5 separate regions of the Homo sapiens genome follow, and regions 1, 3, 4 and 5 are each linked to region 2. The links are contacts of gene promoters, found by promoter capture Hi-C in blood cells and fetal thymus (Javierre and others, 2016). All regions are on one chromosome and are shown on one strand. The core of a region is centred on a gene start or on the middle of the fragment in contact, and the rest is flanking DNA. Distances in the headings are between cores, read along the strand shown. Region 1 has its middle 35 kb from the start of BBS10. Region 2 holds the start of KRR1 (KRR1 small subunit processome component). Region 3 has its middle 68 kb from the start of NAP1L1. Region 4 overlaps LNCOG (lncRNA osteogenesis associated). Region 5 overlaps NAP1L1 (nucleosome assembly protein 1 like 1).

Region 1 (2,700 bases), core at 127-2,626, 800 kb after region 2:
GCACCTGTAGTCCCAGCTACTTGGGAGGCTGAGGCAAGAGAATGGCGTGAACCCGGGAGGGAGAACTTGCTGTGAGCCGAGATTGTGCCACTGCACTCCAGCCTGGGCGACAGAACGAGACTCCGTCTCAAAAAAAATAAATAAGTAAAAATAAATAAATAATAAGTGAAACAAGATTTTTGGCATTGTGTAATTGCATGGGTTTTTTAAAAATTACTCTTCAACATCCTGATTCTCCAGCAACTTATTCATTCCCAGAAGTGAGGGTGGCATTGAATGAGAGAAGAATCCTGTGTTTCTGACTCATCATTTACCCAGAAGAGAGTGAGCTGACAGAGCTATGTGAAAGGACAAGATAATGTTTACCCTTATTCCTGGACACCGAGGCTCTAAATTCGAATTTCTTTCAGTATACAGTTATAACATTACGTTTGCACAGCCACATGTGAAGATGTTGTGGTGCTCCTTTTTTTAATCTTACATTTTTAACTAATTTACTTACATAACCAAAAATGAGAAGAACAGGGAAGAATCCTGGTCTTAGAGAAGCAAGATGGAAAATTAAACGCGAGGGGATCTCTCTGTCTCTCCCTCTACCACTTATTTCTTAACCTGTTTGCACGTTAATTTCCTTCTCCCAGACTGGCTTCTCCACAAGCTGTAGACCTGCTGCTAGCATCTCAACATCTCTTAACTTATATCCTCTGTGGAAAAAACCAAGAACACCATTAGCATAAGCCTTTCAGTAATGCCGGCGTGAAAAGGAGCGTTCTAACTTGGGAAGGAGGGTGGAATTTTTTATAGGGCTTCAGCAGGCAGGGTCAGCTCAAGTTCACTTTGTTTTAAGAACAAAGATGGTTCCTAGAAAAGGAAGGAATTTTCTTTAGCAATTAGCGGTCACTGTTTGGACAACTTGGATTTTACCAAGAGGAGTGGGAGGAACAGTCCGGTCATGTGTGAGCGGCGGGGGTGGGGAGGAACAGCTACAGTGGACAAGGACATGGAGGCCTACAGTGGAAAATTTTCATTTCTTCAGAGTCTCTTACATCTTACAGTCTCAGGACCTTTGAGAGCCTTCTCCCCACTTCAGTCAATCTGACTTGCTTATCCCTGGACCACTCACTGTGGTCAAGGAGGCAGAGTCAAAGAAGAGACTGTTTCTGGTCAGACCTGAAAGCTAGAACAGGGGGAGGAGCCACTCTTTAAAAAGAGGGAGCAGCGGGCTGGGCGCGGTGGCTCACGCCTGTAATCCCAGCACTTTGGGAGGCCGAGGCGGGAGGATCACAAGGTCAGGAGATCGAGACCATTCTGGCTAACACGGTGAAACCCCGTCTCTACTAAAAATACAAAAAATTCTCCGGGCGTGGTGGCAGGCCCTGTAGTCCCAGCTACTCCGGAGGCTGAGGCAGGAGAATGGTGTGAACCCGGGAGGCGGAGCTTGCAGTGAGCCGAGATCGCGCCACTGCACTCCAGCCTGGGCGACAGAGTGAGACTCAGTCTCAAAAAAAAAAAAAAAGGGAGCAGCCCAGACTTGGCTGATGAGGGCATCGCAGTAACAGGGCAGCCCTCGCCTTCCTCCCCATTTGTGTCTACGAAACCCTTCTTTTCCTCCTTCCAGGTGAAAGGCTCAGTGCTGCCTGTCGGGAGCACTGCTTCGAGGAGACCGATCCAGAGAACTTTCAGCCTAGGGAGTACGGCGCGCAAACCCAGCTGAGGTGAAAGTCTCATTGGGGAGCAGCTCCCAGCACAAACTGCTGAAAGGCTGGCCGCAGCCCTGCTGCCCAGATTTCTTCTTCAGCACTCTCTAACTCCCTAGAGCTTTTAAAATGTCCCCTGTGGTCACTCTGTATACCAGGGAAGACAAACGGGTTTGGCTTCATGCCTGCATTGGCAGTGCTGGGTGCCTCTTCATCCTTCTCTCTCTCCTCTTTTTGGCAGAAAAACCCTTTTCAAATATCCAAGCCCCTTCTTCTCTATAAAAAATAAGACAGATGTGAGCTATGAACATCGTTACTGGTGAAAAAATTAAGATTTAGGAAAGGAAATATCTGTCCTCATCATTTTGCCAGAAGAGCAGAGTAGTTACAGTCATGGACTTTAACTCAAAATCCACAGAATTTGAGTCCTGGCTTCCCACTTACTGATTCCGTGACCTTGGGCAAATACTTAACCTCAGTAAGCCCCAGCTTCTTATTTAGGAAATGGGGAATAACATGTACCTCAAAATTTAGGGGAATAATGCATGTAAAGAATATGCCATTGTGTCTGACATATATTAAAATCCAAAATTACAGTAATTTTTGTGATTATAAAAATGATGGTGATAACATGAAAGTAACTAATTAAATAAAATTATGTATATTAAAAATATAAAAATATGATTTTACCACCATCACCACTCCCAATATTAGCATTTTTAAAATAGAATTTTACAATTAAGACCTCAGATGATCTCACGTGGTGGTCAAGCTGTCACTTCTCTAAAGTGGCCTCAATTGCTCCAGGGCCAGAAAGTAGGAAAATTGGAACACAGGAGCGCTGGGCATGACGTCTCATGCCTGTGATCCCAGCAATTTGGGAGGCTGAGGTGGGCAGATCACTTGAGGTCAGGAGTTCAAGACCAGCCTGGCTAACACGGTGAAACCCTGTCTCTACTAAAAATACAAAAATTAGCCAGGGCGTGGTGGCAGGTGCCTGTAA
Region 2 (2,700 bases), core at 187-2,686:
GACAACTTTCGTCCACTCCTAGTGGGAACAAAACTGACACTAGCACTTTGGAAAAAAGTTAGCATTACTTACACACACCCTACACTTCAGTGATTCCAATCCTATGTTCACAACCTAGAGAAACCCTTGAACATGTTAACCAGAAGACATGTACAAAGATGTTTTAGCAGTATTGTTTATAATTGCAAGCAATTGGGAACAATCCAAATGTCCACCGATAGTAAAATGAAAAAATAAATTGGGGTATATTCATACAAGGAAACACCACATAACAGTGAAAAGACTAAAACTACACCCGCAAGTATCACCCTGTTTGAAAAACAAAAAGCTAAATCTAAGAAGACACAGAAAAATGCATACGGTCCACTTTCATGTATATAAAATTAAAAAACAGGCTAAATTAAGCCACTTCATGACTACAAGAAGAGGAACAGAATGCAACACAATTCAGGGTGGTTACGTCTGATACAGGAAAAGAGAATATGATCTGAGAGGTGCACGTAAGGGTTTGAGGGGTATGGTAATGCTCTATTTTACTTAGTCTGAATGCTAGTTTCCCGCATGGTTTTATTAAACTCTATATAAGTTGTATCCCCTGCTATGTACGTTACATAATCATTTAATGAGCAACAACAAAGAAACTTTGAATACTTTCCCAATGCATCTAAATTGAGAGTTCAATGTTTTTAACACTTCCTATAAGCCTGGTTGAACAGATCCCCAGGCTATTTATGACTTCTCTATCATTCACACTGAAGAAAACGGGTAAAACCAGACTACAACGCAGGAGTTAACAATTAAAAGGTAACACAACCTAAACAGTAAGGGCTGTGTCGTCTAATATTTTAGCATCTGACAAACAGGAATTGATAATCTTTCAAAATGTCTTTACTGACAAACTAGAGCTAAGGACATGTCGGATAGCTCCTTTCCCCATACCTCACCCCATTATCAGGGTCCACTCTTGTATATCATGACTACCTATTCCCACCTCACCCTATTCCTCATTCCGTCAGTGACTTTCAGCCACCCGCAGGCTTACAAGGTTCTGCGTCGCCCTAGGCATTTTCTTAATACTCATCCTTTTACAAAAGACGTAATCCGCAACAGCTTCGCTTTGGGGACCCTTTAGCAAAAGCAATGAATTAGGAACACCTGGGTGGCACCATATCGGCCAGCCGTTCCTGTGGGCCCAGCCAAAATCTTATCAGCGATTATTCAGGTACTCAACTACACAGTACAGGCTCCAGGTGGTTTTATAAGTCCACGAGGAACGAAAGAAAAAAACATCGCAACTCAACGTACACAAACCCCAGGCTTCGGTTCCCACATAACATCACCTTGGTTCTCCGGCTTCGGCTTCTGGTTACGAAATTCACTTTTTCCAGCGCCTTTTTCTGGCCGCTCCAGCGAGGGAGACGCCATTTGCAAGCTGCTTCCGGTGGCTCCGGAAATGAAACTGTTCTTAAACCCTACCGGCTAAAACGCCTACACTCAAAATGAGTTCCGCGGAACTCAGACGAGGAGATCTGCGCAGTCTCCGTGCGTACGTGCGTTAAGCCCGCGCTTTTACACAAACCACAGCTTCTCCTACGTGGCCAATGAAGAGCCGGAGACTTTCTCCCAGTATGCCCTGAAACCATGGAGTTTGCGTACTGGGACTTGTAGTTTAGCAGGCGGTATAGGCAAATTGGATACTGTTTTATCCGTAGTTTCCTCGTGGCCTCACGGCCTAACCTGGACCATCGGACAGCGGAGTGCTACCAACCTGTCATTGATGTCATTCATTCTTTCGATAAATATTTATATGTTGGCCAAATATGCGCTAGATGTTGGGAGGAAGTACAAATATGAGAATACAATGTATATTGGGCCTCCACTGCAACAAGTGACAGGAATAGCTACTATTTATTGTGAGACTACTTTGTTTCAGTACTTTATTTACATTATTTCTAATTTTAAAAACAGTGACAAAATTAAACTTTTCAAAGTTGTTTCTGATGGTAATCTTCCCGAGTGTTGGTATTTCTCTAAGTCAGAGGGATGGTAATTCAACATCCTGACGTTTCTGAAGTATTTCAACTAGCCTAAGATTTCTCAAAATCTCTAAACTCCTTTTCTACCCCCAACATTACATAGGGCTAAGATGTGTAGAGAGGTTCATCACTAACTACAAATAACTACACTTTTGGAAGTATAAGAGTTCTTCGACATGCCAAATATAAGATTTTTTTAAATTTTGATTTTATTGCTTGCATTTCTAAAATTTTCTGCAGCAAATAGGGAAAGTCTTTGATAGGTTAAATTCCTTGCATTAGTGAAATACACGTTTGTCTGATAAATCCACTCTCGTGTATCTTATACAATAATTTAGGTTTTCATATATGAGATCCAGGTATGAAACAGATTGTTACATATGGACAGAAGAACCCACGACAGAGGGGTTTTTTGTTTTTATCCTGTGAGTTTTATAAATGACAGGGATTTTATCTCTGTTCTTTTAATTTCCTCAAAAAATGATAAATTCCTAAAATAGAACAGATAGCAGCAGGTGAAAGTTATAAAGTGAGGAGTACACCTCATGAAGCAGGTTTTTATCATTCTTATTTTAAGTAACTCAATCACTAATAAGTGGAAGGCCCGTCTTCAAGTTCAGGCAGTTTGACCTAGCAGCTTCAGGGGGCTACTATTCATTAGGAG
Region 3 (2,700 bases), core at 106-2,605, 640 kb after region 2:
ACCTGGGAGGCAGAGGGAGGTTGGAGGTTGCAGTGAGCCGAGATTGCACCACTGCACTCCAGCTTGGGCAACAAGAGCGAAACTCTGTCTCAAAAAAAAAAAAGAAAAGAAAAAAAGGAAGAAAGAAAATAGAGTCCTATGTTCCACTTGGTCAGAATATCCATAAGTGAGGCTGAGGTCGCTAGAGAAATTTTTGAAAAGTGCCTTAGGAACGCTAGTAATCAGAGTTTGGGACTTATTGGTGCAGACTGTATAGAGGGACATTTAACACTGAAATTTGATTTTGGGTGAAAAAAGTAATTTTTTTCCCTAAAAACCATAGTCTTGAGTTATTAAAATGTACAAACAGATTTTATTTATTTTATAAGCTTTTCTGACTTTGAAAGTCTTTTCAAATCAGTAAAATATTTTAGTCTCAGCAAAACTATTATATTCTATACTTTGGCTATTAAGTATTAGCAGACAAGCTGCTGGAAAAGTTAAATCTTTAAAAAGTTTGCAATTTGTGCTGCAAATGCTAAACCTATGTTTTTATCTTCCCTATATATACCGATGTTTTTATCCTCCTTCCTGAGAAGGTATGCTGTTTGAACAGACAAAAATACAGATACTGCCTAGCCAACACTAAAAATAGGAACATGTCTGAAATTCACATACTCATATGCCTCCCTGCACTTCCTGTACCCACCTACTGCTTTCTCTAGTTTCTATCCCTGGCTGCGGAACCAGCCCATCCCTTTCCTAAAGAGGCTTCTCTGTTGCTACATATCAATGCAGAAACCATTGACGTGCTTCTGTGTCAGCAATAATGCTCTGTCTTTCCTACCTCATTCAAGGATCCCAGGATTCTTTTTGAACAAGAAAGAAAGGTTTATTAGTCCTCCCCACACTTCAATGCGGCAAGGAGTCAGTATTATTTTGAATGAGGCCCAGAATGAACTCAGCAGATTCATAGAACTGGTCAGAGTGGCAGGTGAATCAAAAGTTGAGTTACAGGCCAGGTGTGGTGGCTCATGCCTGTAATCCCAGCCCTTTGGGAGGCTGAGGTGGGAGGATTGCTTGAGTCCAGGAGTTAGAGACCAGCCTGGGCAACATAGTGAAAACTTGTCTCTGAAACAACAACAACAAAAATTAAAAAATTAGCTGAGCATGGTGGCACTTACCTGTAGTCTTAGCTACTCAGGAGGCTGAGGTGGGAGGATTGCTTGAGCCCAGGAGGTTGAAGCTGCAGTGAGCCATGCTCACACCACTGCAGAGTGAGATCCTGTCTCAAAAAATAAATAAATAAAAGTTGAGTTACAAATTTGTTTCTATTGGTTTTTTTTTTTTTTTAGACGGAGTTTCCCTCTTGTTGCCCAGGCTGGAGTGCAATGGCATGGTCTTGGCTCACCTCAACCTCCGCCTCCCGGGTTCAAGCAATTCTCCTGCCTCAGCCTCCCGAGTAGCTAGGATTACAGGCATGCACCACCATGCCCGGCTAATTGTATATTTTCATTAGAGATGGGGTTTCTCCATGTTGGTCAGGCTGGTCTCCAACTCCCGACCTCAGGTGATGTGCCCGCCTTGGCCTCCCAAAGTGCTGGGATTACAGGCATGAGCCACTGCACCTGGCCTCTATTGCTTCATTTATTTATTTATTTATTTTAATTCAAGAAGAAAAATCAGCCTTATGTCTGCCAGTTTCTATTCTATTTAGCAGATTTCTCTTTGCTTTGTTCTAAATATACATAATTACTTTTTCATTTTCATACTCATTCTGAGAAATCTGAATTAATAATTATTTACTGAGTGCAATATCAGCTAGCTATTGCTGCATAACAAATTTAGCTGGTTAAAACAGCAAGTACTTATTTCACTCATAATTCTGCAGGCTGGTTGTGTAGCTTTTCTCTAGGTTTGCTTTCCTGTTCTTTGCTGGGCTTGCTTATATTGTCTGTGGTCAGCTGGAGATTTGACTGGAAGCTGGATGGTCTAGGATGGCCTTGCTCACATGTCCGGCCGTTGGCAGGTTGTTGGTTAGGAGCTGGCTGGCAGGGACACTTCATACTTTCTCCTTTCATCTTTCAGCATGCCAGTTTGGGCTCCTCCACATGGAGATCTCAGGGTTCTAACCACAGCAAAAGAGAACAAGGCATAATGTGCAAGTCTCTGCTTGCTTCTTATTTGCTAGTCTCATTTTCTAAATCAAGTCACACAGCCAAGCCCAGACGCAAGGTATGGTGAAATAGAATCTACCTCTTGGTGGGAGGAGCTTCAAATTCACATTTTAAAGAGGTATGCTTACAGAGATGGGAAAAAATTATAGTCATTTTTGCAATTCACCACCAGTACATAGTTTGTATGAAGCTTAACATTTTAGAAATATAGACAAAGCATCCGCCATTGTGTGTGTGTATATATATAATATATATATAAATTTATATATATATATATATATGCACTTTTTTTTTTGAGACTGAGTCTCACTCTGTCACCAAGGCTGGAGGGCAGTGGTGTGATTTTGGCTCACTGCAACCTCCACTTCCCAGGTTCCAGCAATTCTCCTGCCTCAGCCTTCTAAGTAACTGGGATTACAGGCACTCACCACCGCGCCCAGTTAATTTTTGTATTTTTAGTAGAGACGGGTCTTCACCATATTGGCCAGGCTGGTCTCAAACTCCTGACCTCAAGTGATTCACCCGCCTCAGCCTCCCAAAGTGC
Region 4 (2,700 bases), core at 111-2,610, 780 kb after region 2:
AGGGAACGGTAGTATCAACTGCTCCATGGAGATGGAAAAGCTTTGAGATGGAAGAGTCGGGGGAAATAATGGTATAGAAGCAGTTTACTGTTGTCATCCATAGAAGATGCTATAGGGATACTGGAGATGAGAAATGAAATTGGGTGAGGCTTGAACATGAGTCAAGCTTTGTATTTACCTTGGTAGTGACAGGAAAACACTGGCAGTTTTTAAGGAGTCATATGACATGATCAGGGCTGAGCTTTCAAAAAAATTAACCTGGCAAGATATGGAAATGGGATGGATAGAATGAGAGAGTGATTGAGATGGGACAGGAAAGCAAGAGGTCATCGCAGTAATCCAGGTGAGGGGCTATGAAGTCTGTGATGGAGAATTGGTGGTGGCTGTGGATGGTAGGAAAGACTGTGAAGGAAATTAGGGAGTGGCTCCTACAGGGCTTAGACCTGCAACGATGTGAGACAAGAGAGATTTCTGAGGGTCAAGCCTCGCTGACTGGGGAGATCATAATGCCATTGCAGAAATGGGAAATAGTGGAAGAGGAGCTAGTTGAAGATTGACACATTGTAAACTTGAAGTTCAACTTGATATCTGGATTTGCAACTAGATAGCCGTGTCAGGATAGAGGAAGGACCTAGAGATAAAGGGCAAAGTTGCCTATTTCCATTGCTTAGACTGTCCCTTAGTGGAGATCTCAGAAGGTTAGGGGAGGAGAGAGGGGCTGGGCTGTGCCAGTAGAGACAGAGAACTGGAGAGTAGAGGGAGGCAGATAATGTGGTTCAGGCCAGATACAAAATCTGAAAAGAACTGGGTTTGAAGAATTTTCTGGTTTACCTGGGACTTTTACCATTTTCTCTAGTACTCTCTTGAGCACTAGGCCACCATATTTTTCCCAGGACCTTTCAAGGTTCCCATCCCATGAACTTTTCTCAAAAACAGGAAGGTGTGCACCTGAGAGCCATGTAAATATCCTGAAATATTCTAGATTTGGAGAGACACTTTAGACTTGGCTGACTTGGGCAGCATTTCTTAATCCTTGATGGTCTCAGTTTTGTAGAAAGAAAGAAAGGGAAGGAAGGGAGGGAGGGAGGGATGGAGGAGGAAAGAAGAAAAAGAGGAAGAAGGAGAGAGAAAGAAAGGAAATTAAGAGCCACTTCATAGGGTTTTGTGTGGGTGTGTGTGCACACATGTGTGTGCGTGTGTGTGCAGAGGAGAAAGGAGATAATACATAATAAAGCATCCATACAGTGACTTGTAAATATTAAGCCTTCAACAATTATTAGTTTCCTTTTCCTCTGCCCTGCATGTGTCAATAGCAATTCCCAGTAGAAATGGGAAACTCTCGGTAGACCAGCACCGAGCTAGAGTGTGAGGGTCTGCTTTCCAGCCCTGTGCCAGCTATTGAGTAGGTTATGACCTTGGGCTAGTTCCTCAGCTAGGGCCTTCTGTCTCAGTTTGCACACCACTAAAATAAGAGAGCTGGCCTAGATTAGTGTTTGCTAATTTCTACCACCAAGTAATTTAAAAAAAAAAATAGTATATATTTAAGGTGTACAACATGATGTCTTGACAAACATACATAATGAAATGGTCACTACAGTCAAGAAGCAAATTAGCATATTCATCATCTCACATAGTTACTTTTTTAGTGTGGGTGGCAAAAGTACATAAGGTCTACTTTCAGTGAATTTTCAGTATAAAATACAATTCTATTAACTATAGGATAGTTATGTTATACACTAGATCTCCAGATTTCTTCATCCTACATAACTAACTTTTTACCCTTTGACTTCTGTCTCTTCATCTCCCCACCCCTGTTCTATTCTGTTTCTATGCATTTGAGCTTTGTTTTTCTTTTTAGATTGCACATAAATGAGATCATATAGTACTCTTCTTTCCATGTCTGGCTTATTTCACTTAGCATAACGTCCTCTAGGTTCAACCATGTCACAAATGGCAAGATCTCTCTTTTTTAAGGCTGAATCATATTCCATTGTAGACATGTACCATAAATTCTTTATCTATTCATTCATCAATGGACACTTAGGTTGTTTCCATATCTTGGTTATTGTTTCTAGATCTTGGATATTGTGAATTATGCTGCAATAAATTATGCTGCATAATTATAATGCATAAACATGGGGGTGGTAATTTCATTTCCTTTGGTTATGCACCCATAGATAGATTGCTGGATATATGGTATTTCTATTTTTAGCTTTGAGGAGCCTCTGTTCTGTTTTCCATATTGATTATACTAATTTACATTCCCACCAACCATGTACAAAGGTCTCCTTTTCTCCACACTCTTGCCAAAAATTGCCTCATCTTTTTGATAATAGCCATTTTAAACAGGTGTGAAATGATATTGCACTGTGGTTTTGATTTGTATATCCTTGATGATTAGTGATGTTACCACCAAGGAATGCTTTTATCCTTTCTCATACTTGCTATCTTTTGAAAGAATTTTTTTTAATCAACCAGAAGTTGTTAAGTAACTGATTCATTTCTTATGTGATCCCCAGTGTTACTAAACTGGATTAATATAACTATTGCCCAAAGAAGCTTGCACAGACTTTATATAAGAAAATATGCAACAGCTATTAGAGGCTTAAACTAAGAAAAACAGCATGCGGACACTATTATAACCATATTGGAATGTGAAATTCTAGGTTGAACACCACTAGACAAGTTAGTCTTAAGGTT
Region 5 (2,700 bases), core at 98-2,597, 550 kb after region 2:
AGTCCTAGCAACTTGGGAGGCTGAGGTGGGAGAATAGCTTGGGCCCAGGAATGAGCTGCAGTGAGCCAAGATCATGCCAGTGTACTCCAGCCTGGGCAACACAGCAAGTCCCTGTCTCTTAAACAAAAAAACTATAAAATGTAAGGAAATAATGACTTTTTGAGTACAGATGGTGGTGCCAGGTTGAATAACAGTTCATCTGCATTATCATTCTTACAAAAAGGAAAAATATTTCCTAGGTATAAAAATACAACTGATGCTCTAGGGAGGCCCTGGCCGGGGAAACGAGTTGCATTTGTCGGCTCAGCTGGCAACAGTGGCGGGAGCAGAGCTGGCGGGGCCTGTGCAACTGCCTGGGTTTGTGAAATGGCTGCTGACGTTTCCGATTCCAATAGGGCTGACTGCAAAGGAGACCCAAGGAACAGAGCCAAGTTAGATGCTGATTACCTACTTTGAGTCCTTTATTGTGGAGTCTGTTCATTACCAATAGAGTACTGTGAATATATGCCTGATGTTGCTAAATGTAGACAATGATTAGAGAAGAATTTTCCAAATGAATATGCAAAACTTACTGTGGAAAATTCACCCAAACAAGAAGCTGGAATCTGTCAAGGTCAAGGAACAGCAGGGGAAGAAGAGGAGAAGAAAAAACAGAAGAGAGGTGGAAGGGGTCAAATAAAACAAAAAAACAAAGACGGTACCACAAAAGGTTACTATAGCCAAAATTCCCAGAGCAAAGAAATATGTGACAAGGGTTGTGGCCTTGTAACTTTTGAAATTGATCTTAAATCACACAAAGATTTTTTGCTCAAAAATTCTCCTGTGGTGCCTCAGTAACAGAGGAGGATGAAATTATCATTCAAGGAGACTTTACAGATGACATAATTGAGGTCATTCAGGAAAAACAGACAGAAGTAGATGATGACAGCATCGAAGATCTTGGAGAAGAAGTGAATTTGAAAATTTGTCTGTAGTTAATGGCCTGAACTGACAGTAGATATGGCCAAAGGGAGAGAGGCCTACATATATATATATATATATATATATATATATGTATTCTACAGTAAAACTGTAGACTGCCTTCGTTCTTGGCATTTTCCCTGTTCTGTACAAGGCTGCTTATTTTTTTATTGCCAAAGTCAAATAAACAGGAGAGACTGTCATGCTCATACATGAACAGAATTTAGTCAAATAAAAAATTTTGGTTATTTGGTACTTTTTTTTTTTTTTTTTGAGACGGAGTCTCACACTGTCGCCTGGGCTGGAGCGCAGTGGTGCGATCTCGGCTCACTGCAACCTCGACTTCCCGAGTTCAAGTGATTCTCCTGCCTGAGCCTCCCGAGTAGGTGGGATTAGAGGCACCCGCCTCCACACCCAGCTAATATTTTGTATTTTTAGTAGAGATGGGATTTCACCATGTTGGCCAGGCTGGTCTCGAACTCCTGACCTAGTGATTGGCCCACCTAGGCCTCCCAAAGTGCTGGGATTACAGGCATGAGCCACTGCGCCTGGCCTTTCTCTTTCTCTCTTTTTATTTTTTGAAAAACCCGGTAGACTTTGCGGTGACCATTTTTGTTGATTATTTTACTGATCTAAAGCTGAGTGATTTTTTAAAAGAATTTGAATTTGGCTTCCTCACCAATAATATGTCTCCTTGCTTCTCTGATGTGATAGTTTTGAGATGGGTGAGAATCTAATATATCTGTGGTTGAATTTGCTTTGCTGTTATCAAGTCCACCCTATGGGCACAATAACATACTGTTGGTAGGAGTTGTTGGAGCTATTCTGGAGATTATTTGGTAAAGTATACTAAAAGCCTTAAAACCACGTATGTGCACTGTTTGAACCAGTAAGCCACTTCTTTGAAATTAGAAGACATTAGAAGAAACAATAAGCCTTGCAATAAAACTTATGGATGAAAGTATTCATCACAATATGATTTATAATAAAAAATTGCAAATGTTATAAGTGAACAATTGGAAAATGGTTAAGGAAGTGATGGTGCACTGTGTGGTATGTTTATGTTTAAAGATGTGGTATGCATATGTTTAAAGAATCATATTTTCTAAGATTATTTGGAAACATGTTTGGTAATGTCAAGTGGGGGCACCCCAGATACATTTTAGACATTTAATCATCATCGTTCTGAGAGGAAGGCCATTCAGAGATGCTAGAGGTTCTTATTCTGGATATAAATTACATGAGTAAAATTCTACTAACCAATTAAAAATAATGTACAACCATGTTCAATATACAGTCCTGGAAATAGCAATTATGTCTTTTCACAAGAGAAAATGACAGTTTTAATGCTCCATCAGATGAATTCGAACTTTAAGTCAGGTGCTGCAAATTGGAAATAAGACTTGTGGTGTTTTAAACTGCTGTGGACACTTAAGAAACTTAGAACCCATGAAACCGCTGCTTATTGCCATGCAAATTACAATCTTGAATGACTGTTTTTTAAAAATAAAGTAATAGAAAAACGTGTAATAAAGACGTAAAATTAAAAAATGAAAAAATACAACTGGTTATATAATATTGTACTCCATCATTAAATGCTAACATTTCTGACAAGTCCTAAGATTTTATCATCTTAAAAACATACCAAAATAAAGTTGGTACTAACCGAAATCTCATCTTCTTCATCTGGTTTCCATTCACATTCTTCTTCCGTAGGTTCATAAATTGCATTAATAATTT

The links. Contacts are between HindIII fragments. The CHiCAGO score rates a contact against its expected background, and 5 or more counts as called.
Region 1: a fragment that was not itself captured here is called in contact with the fragment with the promoter of KRR1 in region 2 in 1 of 17 cell types (M0 macrophages); the score reaches 5.7 in M0 macrophages.
Region 3: a fragment that was not itself captured here is called in contact with the fragment with the promoter of KRR1 in region 2 in 5 of 17 cell types (activated CD4 T cells, M2 macrophages, naive CD8 T cells and 2 more); the score reaches 8.6 in activated CD4 T cells.
Region 4: a fragment that was not itself captured here is called in contact with the fragment with the promoter of KRR1 in region 2 in 1 of 17 cell types (M2 macrophages); the score reaches 7.6 in M2 macrophages.
Region 5: a contact is called between a fragment that was not itself captured here and the fragment with the promoter of KRR1 in region 2, in 15 of 17 cell types (total CD4 T cells, naive CD8 T cells, naive CD4 T cells and 12 more). The highest score is 17.7, in total CD4 T cells.

The regions. Positions count from the first base shown.
Region 1 is chr12:76,311,663-76,314,362 of GRCh38, forward strand. No RefSeq gene overlaps it. Among named protein-coding and RNA genes, the nearest start is that of BBS10, 35 kb to the right of the region's middle. The HindIII fragment of the contact is 7,990 bases long and covers 1-2,700 here.
Region 2 is chr12:75,510,173-75,512,872 of GRCh38, forward strand. KRR1 (KRR1 small subunit processome component) reads right to left here and starts at 1,437. Exons shown (of 10, transcript NM_007043.7): 1 at 1,341-1,437. The coding sequence starts at 1,425. RefSeq lists enhancers at 650-1,194, 1,195-1,738, 1,245-1,404. The HindIII fragment of the contact is 5,214 bases long and covers 1-2,700 here.
Region 3 is chr12:76,151,663-76,154,362 of GRCh38, forward strand. No RefSeq gene overlaps it. Among named protein-coding and RNA genes, the nearest start is that of NAP1L1, 68 kb to the left of the region's middle. The HindIII fragment of the contact is 1,978 bases long and covers 367-2,344 here.
Region 4 is chr12:76,286,058-76,288,757 of GRCh38, forward strand. All of the region lies in intron 1 of LNCOG (lncRNA osteogenesis associated), which reads left to right. Among named protein-coding and RNA genes, the nearest start is that of LNCOG, 28 kb to the left of the region's middle. The HindIII fragment of the contact is 2,393 bases long and covers 165-2,557 here.
Region 5 is chr12:76,057,172-76,059,871 of GRCh38, forward strand. NAP1L1 (nucleosome assembly protein 1 like 1) reads right to left here. Exons shown (of 15, transcript NM_004537.7): 6 at 2,627-2,700. It also overlaps the pseudogene DENRP2. Among named protein-coding and RNA genes, the nearest start is that of NAP1L1, 26 kb to the right of the region's middle. The HindIII fragment of the contact is 7,125 bases long and covers 1-2,700 here.